Linked DNA regions of Homo sapiens: region 1 is linked to region 2. Evidence: promoter capture Hi-C in 16 types of primary human blood cells and fetal thymus (Javierre and others, 2016). All regions are on one chromosome and are shown on one strand. Each heading gives the region's core, a stretch centred on a gene start or on the middle of the fragment in contact. The rest is flanking DNA. Distances are from core to core; before and after follow the strand shown. Region 1 overlaps GRK5 (G protein-coupled receptor kinase 5). Region 2 holds the start of EIF3A (eukaryotic translation initiation factor 3 subunit A).

The links. The method cuts DNA at HindIII sites, captures the fragments that hold promoters and counts their contacts. A CHiCAGO score of 5 or more calls a contact.
Region 1: a fragment that was not itself captured here is called in contact with the fragment with the promoter of EIF3A in region 2 in 1 of 17 cell types (neutrophils); the score reaches 6.0 in neutrophils.

What each region holds. Positions count from the first base shown.
Region 1 is chr10:119,210,223-119,215,883 of GRCh38, reverse strand. All of the region lies in intron 1 of GRK5 (G protein-coupled receptor kinase 5), which reads right to left. It overlaps GRK5-IT1 (GRK5 intronic transcript 1), which reads right to left. Exons shown (of 2, transcript NR_186528.1): 2 at 3,180-4,403. It also overlaps the pseudogene RN7SL749P. Among named protein-coding and RNA genes, the nearest start is that of GRK5-IT1, 4.6 kb to the right of the region's middle. The HindIII fragment of the contact is 977 bases long and covers 3,854-4,830 here.
Region 2 is chr10:119,077,667-119,083,011 of GRCh38, reverse strand. It overlaps EIF3A (eukaryotic translation initiation factor 3 subunit A), which reads left to right and starts at 2,195. Exons shown (of 22, transcript NM_003750.4): 1 at 2,195-2,384. The coding sequence starts at 2,336. RefSeq lists enhancers at 1,981-2,275, 1,703-2,465 and a silencer at 2,471-2,730. The HindIII fragment of the contact is 5,277 bases long and covers 1-5,128 here.

The DNA of each region.
Region 1 (5,661 bases), core at 3,093-5,592, 130 kb before region 2:
AGGTTTCTTTCTATTCTTTCTGTAGATCTGCCGCACTTATGCAACTTAATTGTTTTTTTAAATAAAATGACTGCTTTAAAATAGCCCCACATTAAGAATTTCAAGAAGGAACATGGGGCTCTGTATGTATCTATATCATGCACTTAATTTGAATCAGGAAAGTCAGTTGCTCAATTTAGGCAAATTTCCCAACAAGATATTGAAAAAGGGGGTGGGGGAGGATATGGTAGCTTAACCCCCTCCACCCCCGCCACCATCCATGATTGTCCCTGACCTGAATTTCCTCTTAGGTGAGTCAGTCCCAACTCCCAACCCCTGCCTTCACCCCTCCTCCATGGTGCAGCCCCCTCCCCTTCCTCAGTCTCTTCCTCACTCTCCGCACCCCCTTCCCTATTTTCTCCTTCTCCTACCCATTTCCCCCTCTCATCTCTCCTTCTCCCCCTCCTCCACACTGTCTCTCTCCCCAACTCCCTGCCTCCCTCTGCTTCTTTTAATTTTCCCTAATTTTTCATGTCAGAAGTCATGGGGTTATCACACTCACTAAATGCACAGAATCCTCTAGAGAAGCTCTGTCCCGATGAGCTTTCTGCAATGATGGGAATGTTCTATATGCATGGCCCAATACAATGGCCACTAGCCACACATGGCTACTGAGCACTAGACATGTGGTTTGCATGCTTCAGGAACATAATTCCTAACTTTAATTAATTTAAGTATAAATAACAACATACAGCTAGTGGCTACTACGTTGAACAGAGCCCCTGAAGAGGAACAGGTACCTTTAATCTTTTCGGTCATTCCCTGTGACAGGCTATGTCAAAGGACATACCCAGGCCAATCCCAACAGAAAGCCAGAAAAGAATGCAGCCTCCACCGTCTTCACTCCAGAACTGCAGCCCGTCTACCCGCCCAGGCCTCTGCCCTGAACACCTGCTCTGCCTGGAAGGCGCCATGGCACACCAGTTTTCCTCTTGGATCTTGTCATTCCTCAACCAAAGGGTCTTCTTGCCATTGTTTTTAATGGTTTCCATTTCTAGGAACAGACCTTCATAAAAACAGTGTTGGCCGGGCGTGGTGGCTCACACCTGTAGTCCCAACATTTTGGGAGGCCAAGGTGGATGGATTGCTTGAGCCCAGGAGTTTAGAGACCAACCTGGGCAACAGGGCGAAACCCCATCTCTACAAAAAATACAAAAATTAGCCAGGCATGTTGGCACGAGCCTATAGTCCCAGCTACTCAGGAGGCTGAGGTGGGAGGATCACTTGAGCCCAGGAGGTCGAAGTTGCAGTGAGCTGAGATGGCACCACTGCACTACAGACTGGGTGACAGCAAGACCCTGTCTCAAAAAACAAAACAAAACAAAAACCCCTCAGTGCCCCAGAAAATTAGCAGTTGTCTTCCAGATTCAGGTCTATCCCTCAAGTATAACCTTTTAATTATGCTTAAATCACATACTGGTCCCTCAGGCCATTGTCCAAATTCTAGGCACAGTAGAGTCAATGCAGTCTACACAGCTAAGGAGGTCACACCCCAGTCAGCCTCAGCTCTTCGGGGAAAAAAATCCAGTTCTGTTCACACCTAGTTGATCAGTTAAAAAACATCAAAAGAGACTGAGTGCAGTGGCTCATGCCTGTAATCCCAGCACTTTGAGAGGCCAAGGCAGGCAGATCACCTGAGGCCAGGAGTTTGAGACCAGCCTGGCCAACATGGCGAAACCCCGCCTCTACTAAAAATACAAAAATTAGCCAGGCTTGATGGTGGGCGCCTGTAATCCCAGCTACTCAGGAGGCTGAGGCAGGAGAATCGCTTGAACCTGGGAGGCAGAGGTTGCAGTGAGCCCAGACTGCGCCACTGCAGTCTAGCCTGCGCGACAGAGCAGACTCTGTCTCAAAACAAAACAAAAAACAAACAAAAAAACATGTAAAAAGAGAACGGCAGTGCCCAATTGCATCTTTTCAGTCATTTCACATTGTATTATCTGAGGCTGACACCCGAATGTCACCTCCGCACTGGGTCCTTCAACAACCAAATGCTGAACAAATAAATTTTACTCTTGTAAGATTTTCAGAAGCCTATTCAAGAATGGTTTCCTCAAAATGAGAAGCAGGGGTGGGGGAAGGGTCCAGTCAGGAAGTAAGGACTTTCTCTTTTAAAAGCAGCACAGTTTTCACAAAATGAAATGCTTCTTCCAGTTTTTGGATGGTAATAAAAGGAATGACATTATCTCTGCCCCCCCAAAATACATCTTTTCAATATTTAGAATATTTTTAAATAAAAATTTTCACTGAAATATAACAGGATATGTTTTAAAGTGGAAATCAACCCTATTATTTAAGGCCATAATACATTTTAATTTTTTATTTTTCTTTTTTGAAACAGAGTCTTACTCTGTCACCCAGTCCGGAGTACGGTGGTGCAATACTGGCTCACTGCAATCTCCACCTCCCAGGTTCAAGTGATTCTCCTGCCTCAGCTTTCCGAGTAGCTGGGATTACATGCGGGCACCACCACACCCCGCTGATTTTTGTATTTTTAGTAGAGACAGGATTTCACCATGTTGGCCAGGCTGATCTCAATCTCCTGACCTCAGGTGATCCGCCTGCCTCGGCCTCCCAAAGTGCTGGGATTACAGACATGAGCCACCATGCCCAGACCATTTTAGTCATTTAAAATCATGCCTTCATCCCCTTGTCTTCAATATTCTCTTCTATTCCATTCATTTATTTATTTATTTTTAGAGACAGGGTCTTGTGTGTTGCCCAGGCTGGAGGGCAGTGGCTATGCACAGATGCAGTCCCACTGCTGATCAGCATGGAGTTTTTACCTGTTCTGTTTCCCACCAAGCCAGTTCACCCCTCCTTGGGCAACTTGGTGGTCCCCACTCCCGAAAGGTCACCATATTGATGCCGAGCTTACTGCAGATACCCAATAGGCATAGTTCGCTCCAGACCAGTACTCCTGGGCTCAAATGATCTTCCTCAGCCTCCAGAGTAGCTGGGACCACAGGCTGTGCCACCGCACTCGGCTCCACCATTCTATTTTGATGTGAGAAATGGGTGCTGAGGGCTGTATGATTGAGGAAATTCCTAATTATCTTCTCAATGTGTCACCTGTTGGTAGTCACTTTCTGTTTTCTCAAGTTTCACCTCTGAGTTGCATGACCTATGACAATAATGCCTTTTGGTAACCAGAAGACTTTTTTATTTCAAAAATGTCTAGACATTATAATGCTTTATCTTGCACTCCAAACATATTGGCAACAAATATTAACTTTGAATATTGCCCACAGTCCTGGATAGTTTTATTTAAAACATCCCAGATATGGATTGAATAGCCCTTGGTAAAGGTGAATTTGGTTAAACATTGAGCCCGCTCCTGAAATTCACTTGGGCATTCTGGAAGTCTTCAGCCCAGATCCAAAGGGTATCATTTAGCAAGCCACTATAAGAGTTATAGCTTCTGAAGACATAATTTAAACAAGGATTAGTTTGGGCACTGGAAGAGTCAAGCACTTTGGAGTTTAGAATCTGACAAGCAGCAGCTAAGCTACTGAAAGATGAGAGCCTTGTGGGCATTTATCTGATGGTTTTTCAAACAGGCAGCCAGATTAACTACAATCATCGTTTGAAATCTTTAAGAAAGCAAAAGGCCTTCTGAAAACATTGCTTTTGGTTTCTCTACCTCCAAGTTGTCAGTACTGAAAAGGAAACTTTAAAAAAAAAAAAAGAAAGGCAGTTTGATTTAACGGCATTGTGTTTAACAGGCCAGGCTGCTTTTACACACACCGAGCTGCCTTAACCAGGATGAAAGCTGTCGCTTGGTAAGATTAACATTAAAATTGAAGGAGAAGCTTCAGGGTGGAGTACGTATGCCTCCACGTATGCCTTCACATAGCCATAAGAGGGCTTTGAGCTTCAGAGATGTTCCAACGTTCTAATAACCTAATTCACCATGTTTTGGTTTTATCACCATGAATTAGGGGTGCAAGGGAAAGAGGTCCAGGGCTTTCAGCCGTGCTGTGGAATGTTAAGTCTGTCCACGCCATAGCCTGCCCCACGCAGAGCTGGATGCTGGCTCACTCCTTCTTCCTGCCCTCCCTAACCTCTTCCAGGCCCCGAGGTGCTAATCTTGATGATCAGGAAGATCCAGCCAAGTCACAGAGTTACCTGAAAAAACGGTTCCTGTGTATTCTAATGTTTGGCAATTGTGACAAATGACAAAGTTGTTCCAGTCCTAACTTCTCAATTCCTGTGCTTGCTAGGGCCTCAGGAAAATGTGATCAATATTCCTTCAGGTATCTTTTTTGATCAGATATGGCTACTGCTGGCCTGTGAAGAAAGGAAAAGCGGGGCCTTGCAAAATTTTTTCTCACCACTGTTCACTCAGAAGAAAGGCAACAGATCTAGAAGATGAGAAAAACACAAAAACCTTTACTGCAACAATAAAACCAAAAAGAAACACACAAAAGGCACTCAGCAAACTCTCCTTCTCATTATTATTTCAACATTAGGTCGCCTGCCAATTTTCTGAGATTCTGAAATGTAAATAAATAGATAGAGTTAGTCTGGGCCTCTTTTTCATGAAATGCTTAATCACTTAGCTCATTCCCATAAATTGCCATGAATTCAGTCTCAACTTCTTTCTTTTTTTCCTTAAGCACTTTTTAGGAGAGCAATCTAAAGTTCCTAAGAGTGATCGAGTTGATGTTTTCTCATGAGACCCAGGACAAATAAACAGGCCCCAAAATACATTTCCGTGGTTCAAAATCTTGAACCCATACCTCTACCTTTTCTTATTTTAAAATAATTATCACAAGTGTTCATGAAGCTTGCTTGCTATATTTTCTAATTACTAACAATCCATCATTTTACTCTAATCCACTTACAGGCTTTCTATTTTATTGCTACATTAATGCTTTCCACTTTATATTATGTCTTATTACGGTAAGACTTTGAAGATACAGTGAATTTAGGAGCCATCTGTCTTTAATGCAAAACAAAAAGAAAAGATAGGTCCCAGTGTTACCCACCAACATGGACAACTACAAATTATTTTACAGCATTTTCAAAGTGTGCCTGTCTTTCTTCAAGGTCTGTTTCTCTATTGTTTGGGACAAATGTGACTTTTACTTGAAAGCCAAATTTTAAATTGCTTACGGTGTATTTTGTTAAGTGAACTAAATTAAATTTCACATTTGCCAATTATATTTCTCATCTGTAACCACTGACAAGAATCTTTAAGAAGTGTTTTTAAACCTTTTAAACAACTCAGATTTTTTTAATATACTGTTTTATATTAGATATTTCACTAAACTGACTGAAGATTTCATTTCTGAATATTTAGATAATATGGTTATTTGGAGAACTACTAAGTTTAGTAAAATAAATTCAAATATATGAGAACTGAGAAGAGAAACATAAATTGCTTTAATTTCTAAAAGTGTCCACACTAATTAGGATATATGGGCTCAAGTCTCTAATAAAGGCCCAGCCAAAAGAAACTGGAAGCACTTAAAATCATGGCTTTCCTCTAGGCATAAGAGAGAAAGAAGGGGAGAGATGCAAATTGTAAATGAGGTTTCCATTAAATGATTAATTTTTCTTGTTCACGTGTCAGTCTCTCCCTGCTTCCGCAGGCCCTCTCCATTTCCAAGGCATCAT
Region 2 (5,345 bases), core at 946-3,445:
CCATAAAACAGTTCCTATAGCTTCTCAGTACTTGTTTTTATATCAACCCTGCCCAGCTCTTATTTTTTTGTTGAGTAAGCTCAGACACATAGAATGGTCTAAGCGTTCTGGAGGATGAGCTCTCTGAAATTAATTTTAAAATAAACTTCTTTAGAATTTGTGATTTTTTGGGTCCATGTCTATACTTCCCAAATCTTCTTTCTTTATAGTGATCAATTTAGATAAATAGAAAAACCTCTCCTGTAGTAGAACAGTTCATGTTGAAAAATAAAAAAACAAAACAAAACCATCTTTGTGGAGGCAGAAGTAATGAGGGGGAAATGCTTTTTGTGTGTATATCCTGTGGTTTTCTCATTCTTTTTTTTTTTTTTTCTTTTTTTGAGACGGAGTCTCCCTCTGTCGCCCAGGCTGGAGTGCAGTGGCCTGATCTTGGCTCACTGCAACTTTTGCCTCCCGGGTTCAAGCGATTCTCCTGTCTCAGCCTCCCGAGTAGCTGGGATTACAGGCGCCCACCACAGCGCCCGGCTAATTTTTTTTTTTTTTGAGACGGAGTCTCGCCCTGTCACCCAGGCTGGAGCGCAGTGGCACGATCTAGGCTCACTGCAACCTCTGCCTCCCGGGTTCAAGCGATTCTCCTGTCTCAGCCTCCCGAGTAGCTGGGATTACAGGCGTTCGCCACCACGTCCAGCTAATTTTTTGTAACTTTAGTAGAGACGGGGGGGGGGGTTTCACCACTTTGGTCAGGCTGGTCTCGAACTCCTGACCTCGTGATCCGCCCGCCTCGGCCTCCCAAAGCGCCTGGATTACAGGCGTGAGCCACCACGCCAGGCCTAAGTTTTGTATTTTTAGTAGAGACGGGGTTTCGCCATGTTGGCCAAGCTGGTCTCGAACTCCTGACCTCAGGTGATCCACCCGCCCCAGCCACCCAAAGTGCTGGGATTACAGGCGCGACCCACCATGCCCGGCCGATTTCCTCATTCATTAATTCACATATCTCGTCTATTAAATGTGTAATACATTGACAATAATCTATTTCACTGCTGCCTTCTAAATTTTCCTTCTGGGCTGGGCGCGGTGGCTCACGCCTGTAATCCCAGCACTTTGGGAGGCCGAGGAGGGCGGATCACGAGGTCAGGAGATCGAGACCACGGCGAAACCCCGTCTCTACTAAAAATACAAAACATTAGCTGGGCGCAGTGGCGGGCGCCTGTAGTCCCAGCTACTCGGGAGGCTGAGGCAGGAGAATGGCGTGAATCCAGAAGGCGGAGCTTGCAGTGAGCCGAGATCGTGCCACTGCACTCCAGCCTGGGCGACAAAGCGAGACTCCGTTTCAAAAAAAAAAAAAATTTTTTTCCTTCTGAGCTCACCTTTATTTCGTACCAAGGGCTTGAGAATTAGATTCGGTTCAAATGGTTTTCAAATTCTAGGTAAAGTACTTCGTCTGCGAACATTAAAATTGTTAAGCAACAATAAAAGGGCCTCTCAGATTGATTTTTTTCACTAACACTAATTTTTCTTAATTTGTTTGTGACGTGCGCTGTATGTAAAAAGTGACGACACTCCTTTCCGTGTGTTTTCAAACACCAAGCAAGTCTGCTGTGCTCCAGGGCGTTTCGCCCTTTGCCAGGTCGCTGTCCCCATTCGCCCCCTCTGAGAGCCTCCATTTCTCAAGGCAATCCCTGTGACACAAACTTTTTACTTTACCAAGATATAAAAGAACCTTGCTTGTTTATTTTAGGCGTCACTCTTCCCCATGATTGTCTCTCACGGTTGAGCGGCGCTGACCTGATGACACCTGCTCACTGCGTTTTCGTTAAACTCAGCATTTTCACGTAGCCAAGACAGGCGATTCCCAGGCTGGATGGGACCTTACTGTAACTGCACGACTCCGCACAAGTCGCTTTGAAAACCAATCTGCAGACGTTTGCTTGTTCTCCAGACAGAAACTCTGACCCCACACTCACCCTTCCCACCCTAATTCTCGCTCGAAGATTGAAGAGCCTGTGAACTGTCTCCCTAACGCTATCCAGGACAGGCCCAAGACGGGAACTGGACCTTGCGCGCCTAGGACTCCGGCGCCGCCACGTCTGTCGGCGTGCGTGACGCCAGCGCGCTTGCGCGCACGGAGACCCGCCCCCTACATCCGGGGCCTGGGCGGCAGCAGGGCCGCCGCGGGGAGGTCACGTGGCTCCTTCCTTTCCGTCTCTGGCCGGCTGGGCGCGGGCGACTGCTGGCGAGGCGCGTGGGACCTTACGCTGGTTCCCCTTCGTCTCCTCTCCCGGCCCGGGCCACTAGAGAGTTCGCTGACGCCGGGTGAGCTGAGCCTGCCGCCAAGATGCCGGCCTATTTTCAGAGGCCGGAAAATGCCCTCAAACGCGCCAACGGTGAGTAGCTGATCGGGGCGCGCCGGGCTGGGGCGGCCCGAGGCCTCCGAGGTCGAGAGCGCGGGCCTGCTTCCCACTGCTCCGCCGCCCGGCCCGCGCGGGGAGAGGAGACCGATGCGGCCTGCCCGCCGCTGTCCCAGCCGGTGGTTGGGCATGGGTTTCCTTCTCACTCTATCGACTGGGGTCTGGGAGGCGCGTAGCCCGGAACCGTCGCCCCAGGGGCCTTTCCTTCCCCCTGCCGCCTCCGGGTGCGTCGCGGGGACCGCAGCCCGGGAGACAGCCCCTACCCGGACTGGAGCTCCCTCCTTGCTGCCTGCGTCCTCTGGCTCTCCAGGTCCCTGGGGCTTTGGTCTGCTTAGGGCCCGCGTCCCCGGCCGCCATCTGGGAGTGCCGGGGAGTAAGAAACATGGCTCCCTCCCGGGGACAATGCACGCGAGAGCCTCGGCTCCACCTCCTGCCCGGGCCGGGAGCCCTACGGACCCACCCCCGGCCTTCCCGCAGCCACCCCCGCTCTCCAAGCCGCGCTCAGTGCTTTGCTGGGTCGGCGTCCACTTACCCTTTACCCAGCTGCTTTATATCCACTTAGGGGCCTCTGACCCATTTAACCTGATTCCTGTTGTTTTGTTTTGTTTTTGTTTTTTCATTTTTCCTGGCATTGATTAGAAGCAGTCCTAAAGCCTGTTTCGAATCACTGGAAGTTGGAATAGAGTTAATGTAAAGGGACTTCAGGTCGCCTCTTAAAGATAACGAAACAGGCCTAGAGAGAGGTTTCCCCAAGGTCACTCCGGGAGTTGTTGAGCCAAGAGACTTAAAACCAACGTCTCTTGACATCCAGATCAGTCCTTTTTTCTCTTTTTTTCTGCCACAGTGCTGCTGTCTGCGATTTCTATTTCTATATGTGTACTTCAGCCATTGGCGCTTGAGGGAAAAACTTGTGTGCCCCGATCTCTCCAAGGCATTTATTACATTGGCGTTCTGGGGATGCACATGTTCTTGGCTAGGCTCTGGGCTTAAGAAACTTTGTGTAGGGTTTTTTTTTTCCCCTCTAACCGGACAATTTTTCTAATCGTTAGGGCATGGATAGCTCTTATTTTCATCCTTCCTTCACCGAAATAGAAGTTTCGGGTTTTACCCATGTTGTAGATGAATATACCTTGTGAGTTACAGTTTTATGTTTGGAGAGCTTATTTTGTTAGCTTCTTTGAAAATTCATCTTATGAAAATGGCAGTTTGAGTCAGCACATAAACTGATAATTTGGCAGAACCAGAGATATGTTGGTCATATACTTTTTAAAGTAAAAGTAACACTTTTTGTCGGGGAGGGAACTGGTCTGTGGAATAGGATAATTCCACATTGTGTGGAATGGAGTAATTGTTTTAAAAACCTATTGAAACTACAACATAGATGTGAGCACTAATTCATTCTAATGATAACCAGTGATCTAATGGTTAGAACAGACAAGCAGTTTTAGGATGTTTATTAATACATCGGAAAGAAGAGATTGAAATGGAACTTTGTCACTATAAACCAAACTGTAGCAAAGTTTATGACTTTTCGTCGTTTCGAAAGTTAGAATTTGTAGTATACAAAATGATTTGCATGAAATTACTACTCTGCATGGCTGTTGTCGATGTTTTACAGTCATTTGCATGCTTTGCCCAACAGGTATTTTTTTTTCCCCGTGCTAGTAGGCCAAAGCATTATAATGGCCTACATATTATATATTTGGTGTGTTCGGGTCTTGTTTCCTTTATCGCTTCTCTTTTTGGAACCTTCATAAGAACTTCATATAGAAAAGATATGTAATGTGCATCAAACATTTTTTTCCTGTTTCTAAATTGACACAGGCTTGATTCATGAAGGGCAGGTTAAGGAAAGGATCTGAAATTAAAGTAGGCAAGATGAGGGACACTGGGGGGGAAACTTGAGTTTTGTTTGTGTAGCTTTTTAAAAAAGACTGTGGTCCCTTGCAGCCCTTTGAAGCTGTTGGATGGGGATGCATGCGTTCCCTTCAGAGTAGAAACTCATACCTTTGGATTGTGAGGGATCCCTTCTCAAAGTGAGCAGATCGTGGATGGTCCAGGGCACTGCTTCCAAAACATAAGTGAAGGATCAAAGGGCATTCCCCTAATTGGAAATAATCTCATTTTATCTAAATGTTTTACATGTAATATTTGTGATCCTAACAATATTTAGACCTAATTTATTGCATTGTCTTAATAAAATGTAAATAAATTTAAGTAGAATAGTCGTTCAGGTCACCCTAAGCATATATATGAGCAATTTTTGGGGGAAAAATTATAGTAGTCATTCAGGAAGGTGAGAACTTGGACCAGCAGTTACAGGCAAGAATTTCGTATCCTGTAATCATTTGGAGAAGGCCCCTTTTTCATATTATATCATTAGTGGTGCCACACTAACTGCTGCTGACCTTATTATAGTTTATGTTCTACAACCAGTGCCTTTGAAAAATAAAGCTATTAAGGCCACAAATTGAGTAACATAGCATATCCATTTGGTCTGTTGCACAAATAAACTAGCAAACATCAAGGGCTGATGTAAACTTCTTTATACATACTTTCAGTAATGAATTTGAAAGGTATGCTCCAAATGCTCACCCATCCAGTAAGGTTTATAATTCTAGATTTTAATTTTTATTTCTATAATATTAATCTGGAAGTCAATATTTAAGTATTGAAATAGAACCTTTAGTTTATCATAGTTCTTTCCAGTCTCAAAAGCTTCCCCCGGCCACTATTAAATAATTCAGAGGAGGCCGGGCGTGGTGGCTCATGCCTGTAATCCCAGCACTTTGGGAGGCCGAAGCGGGTGGATCACAAGGTCAGGAGATCAAGACCATCCTCACTAACACAGTGAAACCGTCTCTAGTAAAAATACAAAAATATTAGCCTGGTGTGGTGGCGGGCACCTGTAGTCCCAGCTACTCAGGAAGCTGAGGC